Regions from separate parts of the Homo sapiens genome. Here region 1 is linked to region 2. The links are contacts of gene promoters, found by promoter capture Hi-C in human tissues and cell types (Jung and others, 2019). All regions are on one chromosome and are shown on one strand. Each heading gives the region's core, a stretch centred on a gene start or on the middle of the fragment in contact. The rest is flanking DNA. Distances are from core to core; before and after follow the strand shown.

Region 1 (6,878 bases), core at 2,076-4,575, 350 kb before region 2:
GTGAAGAAAGCATTCTGCCACACAGTTGAAGCAGTAGGGCCATTTACATTGCAATGAGGGTTTTCAGGTGGCATAGAATAAGTGGGCCAGAAGAAGTGAAAAGATGAGTAGACAAAACAAGGAGTGAATGAAACAGGAAAAAAGTTGGAAGGTGAGAAGGAGTAGAGTAAGGAAGTGGAAACTACTTAATTTCATTGAATAATCAAATTTTATTTTAATCTTCTCAGATGAAGGATGTGTGACTGAGAAGTAACAGAAACAGCAGTGTCTGACCAAGTCTCAGAGAGAAATGGTGGAGGCTGCCCTGAGATTTTCAAAAGGGAAGAGAAGCCTCTATTTGGATGGGGTGAATGTCCAGATATCTGGAGCAGCAGCAAGGGCACTTGCTGGGGAGAGCTTCTAAGAGGTTTGGAGCCAGGGGTTAGATTTTTGGAAGTCCCTTCCAATCCTCAAGTCTTAGGATTTTATGACCATGAAAATCACTGAATCACAATTTGAAGGTAATTGGTAGATGTTCTGACATTTACGAAAACACAAATGGGTTCAAAGAAAAGGAGAGAAATATACATTGCAAAATACTCTAGGGACTAAACAGTGACTTAACTATGAGTACTAAGCACTGCAATGCATATCTAAGAGGAAGTTTAGAGAATAATGCTATAAATGGTAGTCTCAAATAAAAAAAATACCTTCAGCAATATCAGCCTTTTGGTGTATATTAGTAAAAATTTTCATGACAACTATTATCCACTTGGCTCTGAAGAGGTCACTATTGACCTTTTGGTCTCCCAAAGTGCTGGGATTACAGGCATGAGCCACCATGACCGGCCTTTTTTAATAGATGGTATATATATATATACATATATAGGTGGAAGAATACATCCCTTTGAAGTGCTAGCAAAGTGTTGGCAGCGTTGAGTTCTCTGCACCATCTAAATTAGAAGATAGGTGGCTCTATGGGCCATTGATAACTTCCTAAAGTGCGGAGTGTGTACATATACTTACTTTTCCTTTGTATGTTTGTTTTCACTTTCTAATCAAATTTTGAGTTCTTCAAGGGTAGAGGTAATAGCTCTTCTCCCTTTAGGGTACTCAAAGCTTGTTGAACTGAGCTAAATTATATTTCATAGAACACTTTAAGAAGCAAAAGTTTAAGAACTGTGTCTCTTCTGGGACAAAACAGCCATGAAGGAAAAGCAGAGATTATACATGAAAAAGCTTCTAATTTAAACCACTGGAAAGCTCAATATTGTTGAATCAATATTGCTTGAGTCTAGAACTCTGTCATGTATATATACGTCTCATTCAAGTAGAGTGCTGGCTGTTCTCTATAAAAGTAGAAGTTGACTTTCAGGGAAATTACGTGTCATGTTCAAATTTATATGTAAAATAGGATTAGAAGATAATTTCTTCAATTTATAAATTAACTGCTTAAACAATTAGACTAGGATGGCTTAATTTACACAAACATTTCTTTTTATTTGTATGTGTAGCCAATCTGCTTTCAAAAAGAATGCTTAGTAGGATTTTTTTAGAACTCTGTTGTCAGATTCACACTTGATATGGCAAATACAGTATAGGTTGTCTAGGGAATATTATTTTATGTAGCAAAAAGATCATAACTGAAAATAGGAATTGTGGTTATAATATCCACTAGTATGTAAAACAAACAGTGCATTTACTGTTTTTCTAACAAAGCATTTAAATATTTAAACTTCCCATAACTATCCTCCAAACTGAAAGAAACCTGTAACAAAAAAAAAAATTTCCAGTCAACAAAAAAAATTTATTAGAGAAAAATTTTTTTTTTTTTTTTTTTTTTTTTTGGAGACGGAGTCTCGCTCTGTAGCCCAGGCTGGAGTGCAGTGGCGCGATCTCGGCTCACTGCAAGCTCCGCCTCCCGGGTTCACGCCATTCTCCTGCCTCCACCTTCCGAGCAGCTGGGATTACGGGCGCCCGCCACCGCGCCCGGCTAATTTTTTTGTATTTTTAGTAGAGACGGGGTTTCACCGTGGTCTCGATCTCCGGACCTCGTGATCCGCCCACCTCGGCCTCCCAAAGTGCTGGGATCACAGGCGTGAGCCACCGCACCCGGCCCGAGAAAAATATTTCTTAAAAATGAGTAATAGCCAGGTGCGGTGGCTCACACCTGTAATCCCAGCACTTTGGGAGGCTAAGGCAGGCGGATCACCTGATGTCAGGAGTTTGAGACCAGCCTGGCCAAAATGGCGAAACCCTGCCTCTACTAAACATAGAAAAACTAGCTGGGTGTGGTGGCACGTGCCTGTAATCCCAGCTACTCAGGAGGCTGAGGCAGGAGAATCGCTTGAACCTGAGAGGCAGAGGCTGCAGTGAACTGAGATCACACCACTATGCTCCAGCCTAGGCAACAAGAGAGAAACTCCATTTCAAAAAAAAAAAATGGAGAATAATAGGGCTGGATGTAGTGGCCCTATTAATCCCCGCACATTGGGTGGCTGAGGTGGATCGCTTGAGGCCAGGAGTTTCAGAACAATCTGGGCAACATGGCAAGACTCTGCCTCTACAAAAAATACAAAAATCAGCTGGGTGTGGTGGCATGCACCTGTAGTCCCAGCTACTCCGGAGGCTGAGGTGGATCACCTGAGCCTGGGGAGGTTGAGGCTGCAATGTGCCATGATCACACCACTGCACTCCAGCCTGGGCGACAGAGAAACCCTGTCTCCAAAAAAAAAAAAAAAAAGTAGAAGAAGAAAGGAAGTTTGGCAAAAATGTGAATTAATTTTGAGAGAAAAGATATAGCTCCTTGTTGAGTAATGCCAATGTTAATAGTTAATCATTAGTTTACTGCATATATGATATTTATCAAAGGCCAGAATATCACTACCCTCCATAGTTGACAAACTGTTCTAAAAATTTTAACCTATCCCTTTCAGTGAAAAAAAGAGCAGGAATATTGATAATTGAAAACAGGTAAATCTGGGACTGTCTCTTTTTACATTATGCACAGTCTGTGGAAACAAAGATTTAATCCTTGTGTAACTCACTGAAAATTTACCTTAAAATGTATCATATTACAATAATGCTTATATTGTAAATAAGAAATATTCTGTATTTGCCCAACTGCAAACTTAAATGACTTAATTTTTTCCATAAATCTGTTAGCTTTATTTATTGTCATATTGCCAAGTTACGTATCTCTTTTAAAAATAATTCTGATTTATATACTTTTTTGGAGAGCTTTTTCAGCAGTACCCAGTAATTCCACTTCTAAAGGCCTACAGAAATACTTACACAAGTGCTCGATATATATGTATAAATATATTAATGGCAGCTTCATTAATAGATAGACAAAACTAAAGAATCCATAATGTCCAACAAATGAGGACTTGTTTAATAAATTATGGTATATGTACACTATAGACAGTACAAAGAAATTAAAAAGAATGAAACATCCATATTTACCAATATGAAAGCATATGTTGCATGAAAAATGTGAATTATAACATACCTCCCCCAAAAAGGAAATAACTACATGTGTGCATGTAAGTATCTGCATGTATACATGTTCGAATGTACACTACAAAGGTCTGGAGGGAAATAATGACTGTGAAAGACTGAAGAGGAGGGGAAAATAAGAGCTTTCTCTTTTTTTTCTTTTTTTTTTTTGAGATGGAGTTTCACTCTTGTTGCCCAGGCTGGAGTGCAATGGTGTGATCTCGGCTCACTGCAACCTCCACCTCCCAGGCTCAAGTGATTCTCCTGCCTCTGCCTCCCAAGTAGCTGACATTACAGGCATGCGCCATCATGCCTAATGTTTTGTATTTTTAGTAGAGATGGGGTTTCTCCATGTTGGTCAGGCTGGTCTTGAACTCCCGACCTTCGGTGATCTGCCCGCCTCGGCCTCCCAAAGTGCTGGGATTACAGGTGTGAGCCACCGTGCCCGGCCTGAGAGCTTTCTTTTTAGGTTTGATTTTAGTTTAACAGTGAACATACAATATCTACTTCCTGTGTTTTCGTTTCTGTTTTTCTGGAGACAGAGTCTTGATCTGTCATCCAGGCTGGAGTGCAGTGGCAAGATCTTGGCTCACTGCAACCTCCGCAGGCCAGGTTCAAGCAATTCTCATGTCTCAACCTCCCAACTAGTGGGGATTACAAGCATATGCCAATGCACTCGTCTAATTTTTGTATTTTTAGTAGAGACGGGGTTTTGCCATGTTGGCCAAGCTGGTCTAGAGCTCCTGGCCTCAAGTGATCCGCTCACCTCAACCTCCCTAAGTGTTGGGATTACAGGCGTGAGCCACCACGACAGGCCCCAATTTCCTGGTTTCGACAAATACTATAGCTATGTAAAACGTTAGCACTGGGGGAAGTGTACAAGGGACCTCTCTAAACTATATTTGTAACTTTTTGTGAGTGTGCAATTATAGTACTTTTAAGAAATTTTTAAAAACAGTGAGCATAAACAATTTTTGTAATTATCACAGTGTTTGTTTTTGGTTTTTGAAAAATCATTTTACAGGGTAATTTTCCAAACTACAAAACAGCTCTAACGTTTACTCTTAAAATAATCATAAAAATTTGAGTTCAAAGTTCATATCGATAGCTGAAGGCATAAGCACCTATCACCTACATATTTAAGCACATAAACTATAAACTTCCGGAATTATGACACTGGAGCAAAAAGAAGAAAAACGCAAAAGTCATTTAGGTTCAGACTAATCCTTTAAAATCTAAGCTTTCCCAAAAGGGCAGCATACTTTTCTAATATCTGGACCTTAAGGTAAACTTTGTGAGATGTCTGGTCTTGTTATATTCAGAAGTAAACCCAAATGTATCTTCCTTTAATTCTTTGGCACTTCAAATGAATTTAGGATTGTCTGAGGAAAAAATGCTTGCTGGAGGAGCTGTGTGAACAAGCTTGTTGTCCTGCTACTATATCTAGTCAAGCATTCAGATACTACAACTTTGGCAAATCCCATTAATACTTTAAGAAGTCAACGACTTTAAAACTTCTAAAGAAAGTTCCTGTGAAGTAGTCACAGGGGCAAGTTTAAGCAGGCAGGGTGTGTATACAATATAGTAACAAAATAATGCAAACAAAAGAAGATTTGTTTAATTATAGTGGAAATAATTGTTATTTAAAAGTGCCTTCTTCCTCATCATAAAAGAATAAACTGGACCAGTGGCAAAAGAATTGTATGTTGTGATGCCTTAAGATTAGAAACAGAAGACAGAAATTTCAAAGTAAAGTCCTGGCAGACGTCCAGTCTCTATGGCAAGAATTCTGGCCAAACAATTCCTTCATAAGATTCAAAGCTTGTTCATGTCCCTTTAGACAGAACTCAAAGTTGTTCATTTTGAGTCAAATACAAGTGTATGTTTATCAGGGTTTTCCTATCTTTCTATGGTGATGTACATGGGAACTTCTTTCCTAAACCTTATAATCATTTGGGGGTATGGTAGAGAGAGATTATCAGGCCATGTATAAAAGGATAAAAGAAAATGGGTGAGGGGCTAAGAACAAGGAGGTGGGTGCCCAGGGTACTTCCCTTTTCAAGCAAGACTGGTGGAAGAAACTGTCAGCTTTTAATAGTTCACCTATGATATGAACCTGGCATAGCGATGCCACTGCCCTGTTGAAGTGTTAAAAACCAATAGATGGTAGCTGCTGACTCAATCAACTGATAACCTCTTTACTGCAAGCTTCACATAATTCCTAACTTTAGCAATCAAGATTAAGCATGCCAGGTAAAAGCTCTCTCCCAGAAGTAAACTCTACAACATTTTCCCTCACAGATTTCATTAAACCATTGTTAATATATATAGTTGAAATAGTTCAGGAAACAGTTTCCAAAGTCATGCAGTAGTTATTAAGAAGTGCAGGACTCCATCCTGTCTCTGATTTCCTACACAATAGTGTTCTTGTCAACAAGTCATTCAGATACTTTGGTGGCTTTCTTTTTACACTCCTAACTTTTTATCCTTTAGCTGTCTTTCAGAATCCAATAGTCTTTGTCTTCAACTTTATCTCATTACTGCCAACTAACTTATCTCTCCAATAGTCTGGCTCTTATTTAATTTCTACCACTCACTTCTTTTTCCCCAGTGCCTGGCACTCAATCATTTTTATTGAAGAAATAAATGACAAATAAACAAGCAAATAAATCAAAATCTACCCACACCTAATGCTTTTTACTGCGAACAGTTTTAGGAGTCCACTAACAAACGCTTAATTTATTTACATATTGCATTGTTCCAAACGGGTTTTAAGGCAATTTACAAAAACATATGCAAGACAAATTTAACTTAGTTAACTGAGAAAAGCCAGGGCCACGAGAAAATGAGAGTAGGAAAGATGAGGAGGTTAGTACACAAAATACATGTGATGCTATGCTATATTCCTGAGTTTTTCTGTCTCCAAAATACAGAATAAACTACCATTAATTGTACAACTCACAGTTCTCTTGAAATAAAAACAAACCAGTTGCTCAGGGTAAATTCAACTATCTGTAATACTGAAAGCAGAAATCTCTGAGTCTGCTGGGAGCTACTATGACCTACTATGAAATACAGTGAACCCAATCATCAGTAGTTACTACAGCAATTCTATCATCTGTAGTCTAGACTACCAAAACAATCATCTAATTGCTCTTCCTGATTCTAATTTTGTCCCTTTTAAATCTATTCTCCTTAAAACAGCCAGAATAAACTCTCAAAATACAAATCAGAGTATGACACTAACCTGCTTGAAACCCTTGAATGATTTCCCATCATACCTATGATCCAAACTCCTTAACAAAACCCTCAAGGCCTTACATGATTTGGCTCTGATAATCCTCCTAATTTCATTTGCCCCTCTTCCTCTTGCACACTACATTATAGCCATACTATTACCC
Region 2 (6,930 bases), core at 492-2,991:
AACCCAAGGAAACTCAGGGCGCACTGTGAAAACGTTAGCCCCCAGGCCCGGCCCGGCTGAGGGTCCCGCTCCAGCCCCGACAGGCGACCACAGCCAGGCTCGGGCCGCATCATCAAACCCTCGAGGCTGGAATCAGACAGACAGGATAACAACTCAAAAACATAAAAAGATGAACTAAAAATACAATCCCCCTCCCCTGTTAACGGTGAGAAGGTAAGGTAAAGGGCTGAGCTAGAGCCCGCGCCGTAATAATGGAGACATTAAAATGCTAATTAAGACGTTAATTGTTTTCAGGGTCCCTACTGAAGCTTCCAATAACAGAGTTCATTTAAAACTCTAGAGGCGCCCCGTTTCCTTATTTACCCTAGGGCTCCAGACCTCGAAGGCGCCAAGGGTCACCCACAGCGCGGACCACGGGCGGCTTATTTGTTAGGCCGCACATTGAGGGGACAAGCCCCGAAGTTCTGGAATATATGCCCTATGTGTCCCTGCTTCCCTTCCTAACTGGCGACCAGGAGCTGCTGCTTCCTACTCCCAAAGTAGTGTCGGTCGGTCCGTCCGTCCGTCTGCAGGCCTGCACCTCAACGCTTTGAAAGCTAGCATTGTTTTTTCGAGATTTTGCTTGCGTCAGGCTTCAGACTGGTGCAAAACAGCCTCGAAAAAAAATAGGAAGCAACTGGTTATTTTAGCTGCCATAAAGTCACATCCCACACAGAGGAAATGAACAATATCAGAAAAACGGATCCCGGCTATCAGAAGTCGAGTGTTTCCTGAATTTGTCTGTATTGAGGATGTCGATAAAATAATCAGCAGCGTGCACTACTCCGGGGGAAGGGTCTGCTTCATGCAGCCAGGAAAACACTTAACAGCTTCTGAAACCAGATTTACTCCTATCGAGAACTCAAGATTTCCTGTATGAACGGAAAGGGTCAGGCTCTTTCACTGCACAAGCCTGTTGAACCAGGTCCAGCCCCGTAGCCACCCGGGCCCGGCTGCGATCCCTGCCCCACGGGGGCCGGCCAGGGGCGCCTCGACGCCCCTTTCCCCGTCCCTCCCGCTAAGGGAGCCCCACCCCGGGTAACACGCGCGGTCCACGGCTGCCCTCGCCGCGAGGTCTACCGCCGGCCCGCGCGCCCCGACGCCTGCAAGGTGCAGGAAAACCAATCTGAGTCACGGTGCGGTCAGCCCCGGCCGCGCGCCTCCCGTCCCCGCGCGTGCCCGACAGCTGCTTTTCCATCGCTTTTGCCACAGCCGTCTACCGCCTGCCCCCTTCGCCCCCTCGGCCTCCCGGGCGCTGCCACCTGCCGGGTGGCGCTTCCTCGCCCCCACCCTCGCCCGGCCGCCTTACCCAGGGGGTCGTGGCGGAGCAGGGCGTGCGTGTAGTCGTTCACCGTCCGCGGGAAGGGGTACAGAGGGCCCCCGAAGCCGCCGGGTCCGTAGGCAGCGGCCAGCGCGGCGGCGGAGTGGTGCGAGAAGGCTGGATGGATCGGCGTGGGCTCGTACACCGGGGTCCGGTAGGGGGACACGAGGCTGGTGAAGGAGGAGTTGGGGGACGGCAGCGTGGGGGCGGGCGTGGGCGCGGCGGGCCCGCGGCCCAGGATGTCCTCGATGTAAAAGGGCGTCGGGTGTGCGGGTTGCAGCAGCGGCGTGGGCGCGTACAGCGGCACCCCCACGGCGCCCGCCGCCGGCCCGGGGTGCGGGTACTGCATGGCTCCGCCGCGCTCCGGCCCCTCGCAGAGCTGCTGGCCCGCGCCGCGGCGCTACATTTATCCGCGCTCCGCGCTCCCGGCGATAGGCTCCGCCGGCCGCGGGGTGGGGCCGCGCTCGCTGGCCCCTTCCTGCCGCCGGGCCCTGCGGCCAATGGCGCGGGGCCCCAAGAGCAGCCGCCCGCCCCCACCCCGGCCCGCCCCGCCGGCCAAGCTCCCCGCCCCCGGGACGCGCTTGCTACCAGGCTCCGGGGAACTGGCGCCCTGGTGCCCCGCCGCGGCTGTCGCCCCTGGGGACTCCAGGCACCCCGGCCGAGGACGCCCTCGAGGGAAGCCCTGGGCCGCGTCCGTCGGGGGAGGCGCGAGGAAGACCGCCTTCTGGAGTGCGGGCTCCAGCGGCCCTGTCCGCGGCCCCGAGGCACCTCTGCCGAAATTCGGGGGCGCCGTCCAGGCCTGGGCCCGGGGTGGCAGCAGCTGTTTCCAGGCGGGGAGCAGCGGGACTCGGCGGGAGCAGAGGCCGCTGGCCTAAGACGCCTCCTCGGTGGGTGCGCTCCCTGGATTAACAGTGGCGCTGGCTGTCACACCGGCCGTTTCCCGAGCTCAGAGCGGGACAGTGCCCTGGGTTCCTAGGGCTGCTCGGCGGCCCTTAGCTGCGGCCCGGCGGGATTCGGATGGCTGGAGTTCAGGTGCTGCGGACTCTTGGCCGCTCCACCTGGTTTCATTTGGAGGCCTCGGACTCAAGCCACTTCCGCGAGGATGCTGGCAGAAGCCGCTGCGAGCAGCAATCAAGGGGAGGCCCGGGTCCTACAGCGCCGGGCAGAGGCTGTGCAGTCTTCAATCCAGTGGGGGCCGCTCCGTGTCTTTTCTGCTGGCTCTTGAGGGTCGCAGCTGTGCGCAGTCTGGCTCTCTGGTTTTGCACGTGTTTTCTATTGAAGCAGTCCGTACTGCTGGCCCGTATGGCCTCGGCTCTGTGCGGCTCCACTCGCCTCCGGGGCAAGGGGGCATTTTCTTGATTGACGCCCTCCTGCGGTCGTCACACCTCGCGGTGAGCCGTTTCTGCTAAGGTCCTCCATTAATCATGGAAATGGAAAGACTTCCCTGCTTTTTCTATTGAGACTTCTCAGGTTTTAAAGTTTATAATTTGGAACTATTTGTCCAAACACAGCGGGACCACAGTAGGAAGAGGCGTGGACTGTGAGCCTGACCGCCTGTTCGAGTTTCACTTCGCACATTTTTGTTGAGCAACTACTGTGTGCCAGCAGTGAAAAGGACAGATGTAGTCCCTCTCCTCATGGAGACAGGAAACAAATTTTAATATATGTATGTGCTAGGAAGGAGATGTACATAATGGTCTAAAACCTGTAACAAGGGGACATCACCTATCTGGGGGACATTAAGGAAGGGAAAAGCTTCCCAAGAATTGATGTTTGAAAAGTGAGTGGGTGTCAGCAAGCCCAGGGTGCTTGGACATTCCAAGTCCGGAGAATAGCATGTGAGCGTTGTTAGTTAATGCAACTTCCGTCAAGTCACCATCCCTGAGTTTTTCTCATCTGAAACGTTTGAGACTTGGCCTAAAGGCTCCTGATCTTTTTAGGGTATTGTTAATAGGTATCTTTCAGAATCTAATGACAGACAAGAGCTACAAGCCCAGACAAACTCAGAAGTGTACTACACTATCATTCGAGTTAAAGCATGTTGGGGGTAGGTAAGAATATAATTGCTCTATTATACAGTACATATAAATCATAAATTTTTATATTACTCCATGATATAAACTATCTCTGGAAGGATAACGAACATTGGCTGACTATGAAGAAAGGGGTGGGATTGGAGGGGGCATGTATAGCTGTGAATATCTGGAGACTTGCACTAGATGGATGTATGACCTATTCGTCGTATAAGTAAGTCCTTGAAGAAGTGGCTGATTCTAGATCTAGGGCAAGAAAAGTACAAGGTAAGCTCAAAGACATCTTGTGTCAGAAACCGTGAAAAGAAAATAGGGACCACCTTGGAGTGGTTTCCATCGGCAAAATTTGGGGTGATTTAAGCTTTAAAAATACATTAGGGATTATACCACTTTGAATATAACAATTCGTGAGTCCATAGTGGTACTCAGAGAGAGAAAGGTGCAGTGGATGTGAAAGCTGGAAGAATGTCAGCTAACAGATGTAGAAAAATTGGTACAATCGAAAAACGTAATAATTCAAGAAGAATCATCATCAACTAACACGTGAAATGTTGAGGATGAGGATTTTCACAAGGCCTCATATCATCCCAATTAACTGGATTCTGGATTTTAAAAAACTATAAAGGAGCCGGGCGCGGTGGCTTACGCCTGTAATCCCAGCACTTTCGGAGGCAGAGGCGGACGGATCACGAGGTCAGGAGATCGAGACCATCCTGGCTAACACGGTGAAACCCCGTCTCTACTAAAAATACAAAAAATTAGCCAGGCGTGGTGGTGGGCGCCTGTAGTCTCAGCTACTCAGGAGGCTGAGGCAGGAGAATGGCGTGAACCCGGGAGGCGGAGCTTGCAGTGAGCCGAGATCGCCCCACTGCACTCTAGCCTGGGTGACAGAGCCAGACTCTGTCTCAAAAAAAAAAAAAAAAAAAAAACTATAAAAGACATTGCTTTTTATTGGGGGGGGGGATAATGGGGACAAACTATGAAGTATATGTTAGTTGACATTATTAATCTTTTAGATGTGATTGGTATTGCAGGTTACTTTGGAAAATGCGATCTTGGGAGTTGCAAGCTAAAGTCTTTAGGAGTGATGGGTCATATGTGCAGCTTACTTTTAAATACTTCAGTATATACATATATGTGCATACACATCTACATGTATATTTATACACACATATCTATGTATATGTTCATATATGTATATATAAAGAGGGATATATCACAGGTTCAGTTCTAGACCACTTCAATAAATAAACATAGCAATAAAGCAAGTCACATGAATTATTTGGTTTCCCAGTGCATGTAAAGGAGGTTATCTTTACACTTTACTACATTCAGTGTGCAATGGCATTATGTCTTAAAAAGCAACGTACATACCTTAATTTAAAAATACTTTGTTACTAAAAAATTGCTAACGATTGGCAGGGAGTGGTAGCTCATGCCTGTAATCCTAGCACTTTGGGAGGCCAAGGCTGGCGGATCACTTGAGGTCATGAGTTGAAGACCGGCCTGCCAATATGGTAAAACCCTGTATCTACTAAAAATACAAAAATTAGCTGGAAAGTGCTTGAACCCGGGAGGCAGAGGTTGCAGTGAGCTGAGATCATGCCACTACACTACCAGCCTGGGCAATAGAGTGAGACTCCATCTCAAAAAAAAAAAATTGCTGACAATCATCTGAGCCTTCAGCAAGTCATAATCTTTTTGCTTTTGAGGGGTGTTGCCTTGATGTGGATGAGTGCTAACTGATCAGGGTGGGAGGCACAGAAGGTTGGGGTGGCTGTGGCAATTCCTTAAAGACAACCATGAAGTTTGCCACATCTGTTGACCCCTCCGTTCATAAAAGATTTCTCTGTAGCATGTGGTGATGTTTGATAGCATTTTTATCCACAGTAGAACTTTCAAAATTGGAGTTCATTTTCTCAAACCCTGTGCTGCTCTATCAAGTATGGTTGTGTAATAGTCTCTCTTTTTTGTCCTTTTTTTTTTTTCTTTTTTCCTTTTTGTAGAGAATGGAGTCTCGCTCCATTCATTGCCCAGGCATGTCTCGATCTACCGGGCTCAAGCTATGCTCCTGCCTCTGCCTCCCTAAATGTTGGGATTACAGGCATGAGCCATTACATCCAGCTATGTAATATTCTAAATCCTTTGTTGTCATTTCAATAATGTTCACAGCATATTCACCAGAAGTAGATTCCATCTCAAAAAACCACTTTCTTTGCTCATCCATAAGAAGTAACTCCTCATCCATTCAAGTTGTATCATGAGATTGCAGCAATTCAGTCACATCTTCAGGCTCCACTTCTATTTCTCTTGCTGTTTCCAGCACATATGCAATTACTTTCTCCACTGAAATCTTGAACCCCTCAAAGTCATCTGTGAGGGCTGGAATCAACTTCTTCCAAACTTCTGTTAATGATATTTTTACCTCCTCCCATGAATCATGGCCTCTGGAATGGTGAATCCTTTCTGGAAGGGTTTTACTTGACTTTGCCCACAGAGGAATCACTATCTATGGCAGCTATAGCCTTACAAAATATATTTCTTAAATAATAAGATTTGAAAATCAAAATCACTCTTTGATTCATGGGCTGCAGAATGGATGTTGTGTTAGCAAGCATGAAAACAACATTCATCTCTTTGTATATCTCCATCATAGCTCTTGGGTGACCAGGTGCATTGTCAATGATCAGTAATAATTTGAAAGGCATATTTTTTTCCTGGGCAGTAGATCTCAACAGTAGGCTTAAAGTGTTCAGTAAACCACACAGTAAAATGATGTGCTGCCATCCAGGCTTTGTTATTTTATTTATAGGGCACAGGCAGAGTAGATGTAGCATAGTTCTTAAGGGCCCTAGGATTTTCAGAATGGCCAATAAGCATTGCTTTAAACTTAAATGTCAGCTGCATTAGCACCTAACAAGAGAGTCAGACTGTCCTTTGAAACTCTGAAGCCAGCATTGACTTCTCACTAGCTATGAAAGTCCTAGATGGCATCTTCTTCCAATAGAAGGCTTTTTGGTCTACGTGTAGAATCAGTTTAGTGTAGCTACGTTCATCAATGATCTTAGCTAGATCTTCTGGGTAACTTGCTGCACCTTTTCTATTAACATTTTCTGCTTCACTTTGCACTTATGGTGATGGCCTCCTTCCTTAAACCTCGTGAACCAACCTCATCTAACATCCACCGTTTCTTCTGCAGCTTCCTCACCTTTCTCAGCCTTCATAGAATTGAAGAGAGTTGGGGCCTTGCTCTGGATTAGGCTTTCGTGTAAGGGAATGTTGTGGCTGGTTAGATCTTCTATCCAGACCACTTGCACTTTCTCCAGATCATCAATAAGGCTGTTTCACTTTTTAGCATTCATTTGTTCATTGGAGTACCACCTTAAATTTCCTTCAAGAACTCTTCCTTTGTGTTCACAGCGCTGTCTAACTTTTAGTGGATCTTAACTTTCTACATGGCCTCCTTGCTGAGCTTAATCATTTCTGGCTTTTGATTGAAAGAGACATGCAATTCTTGCTTTTCCTTGAACACTTAGG

What was found. Contacts are between HindIII fragments. The study calls those that stand out against the background at their distance.
Region 1: a contact is called between a fragment that was not itself captured here and the fragment with the promoter of HHEX in region 2, in 1 of the 25 tissues and cell types used here (H1 embryonic stem cells).

The regions. Positions count from the first base shown.
Region 1 is chr10:93,032,989-93,039,866 of GRCh38, reverse strand. All of the region lies in intron 20 of EXOC6 (exocyst complex component 6), which reads right to left. Among named protein-coding and RNA genes, the nearest start is that of CYP26C1, 24 kb to the left of the region's middle. RefSeq lists a silencer at 1-95. The HindIII fragment of the contact is 4,334 bases long and covers 1,159-5,492 here.
Region 2 is chr10:92,684,766-92,691,695 of GRCh38, reverse strand. It overlaps HHEX (hematopoietically expressed homeobox), which reads right to left and starts at 1,741. Exons shown (of 4, transcript NM_002729.5): 1 at 1,349-1,741. The coding sequence starts at 1,709. RefSeq lists an enhancer at 1-430 and silencers at 961-1,110, 1,121-1,200, 1,621-1,940, 2,011-2,250. The HindIII fragment of the contact is 5,410 bases long and covers 1,713-6,930 here.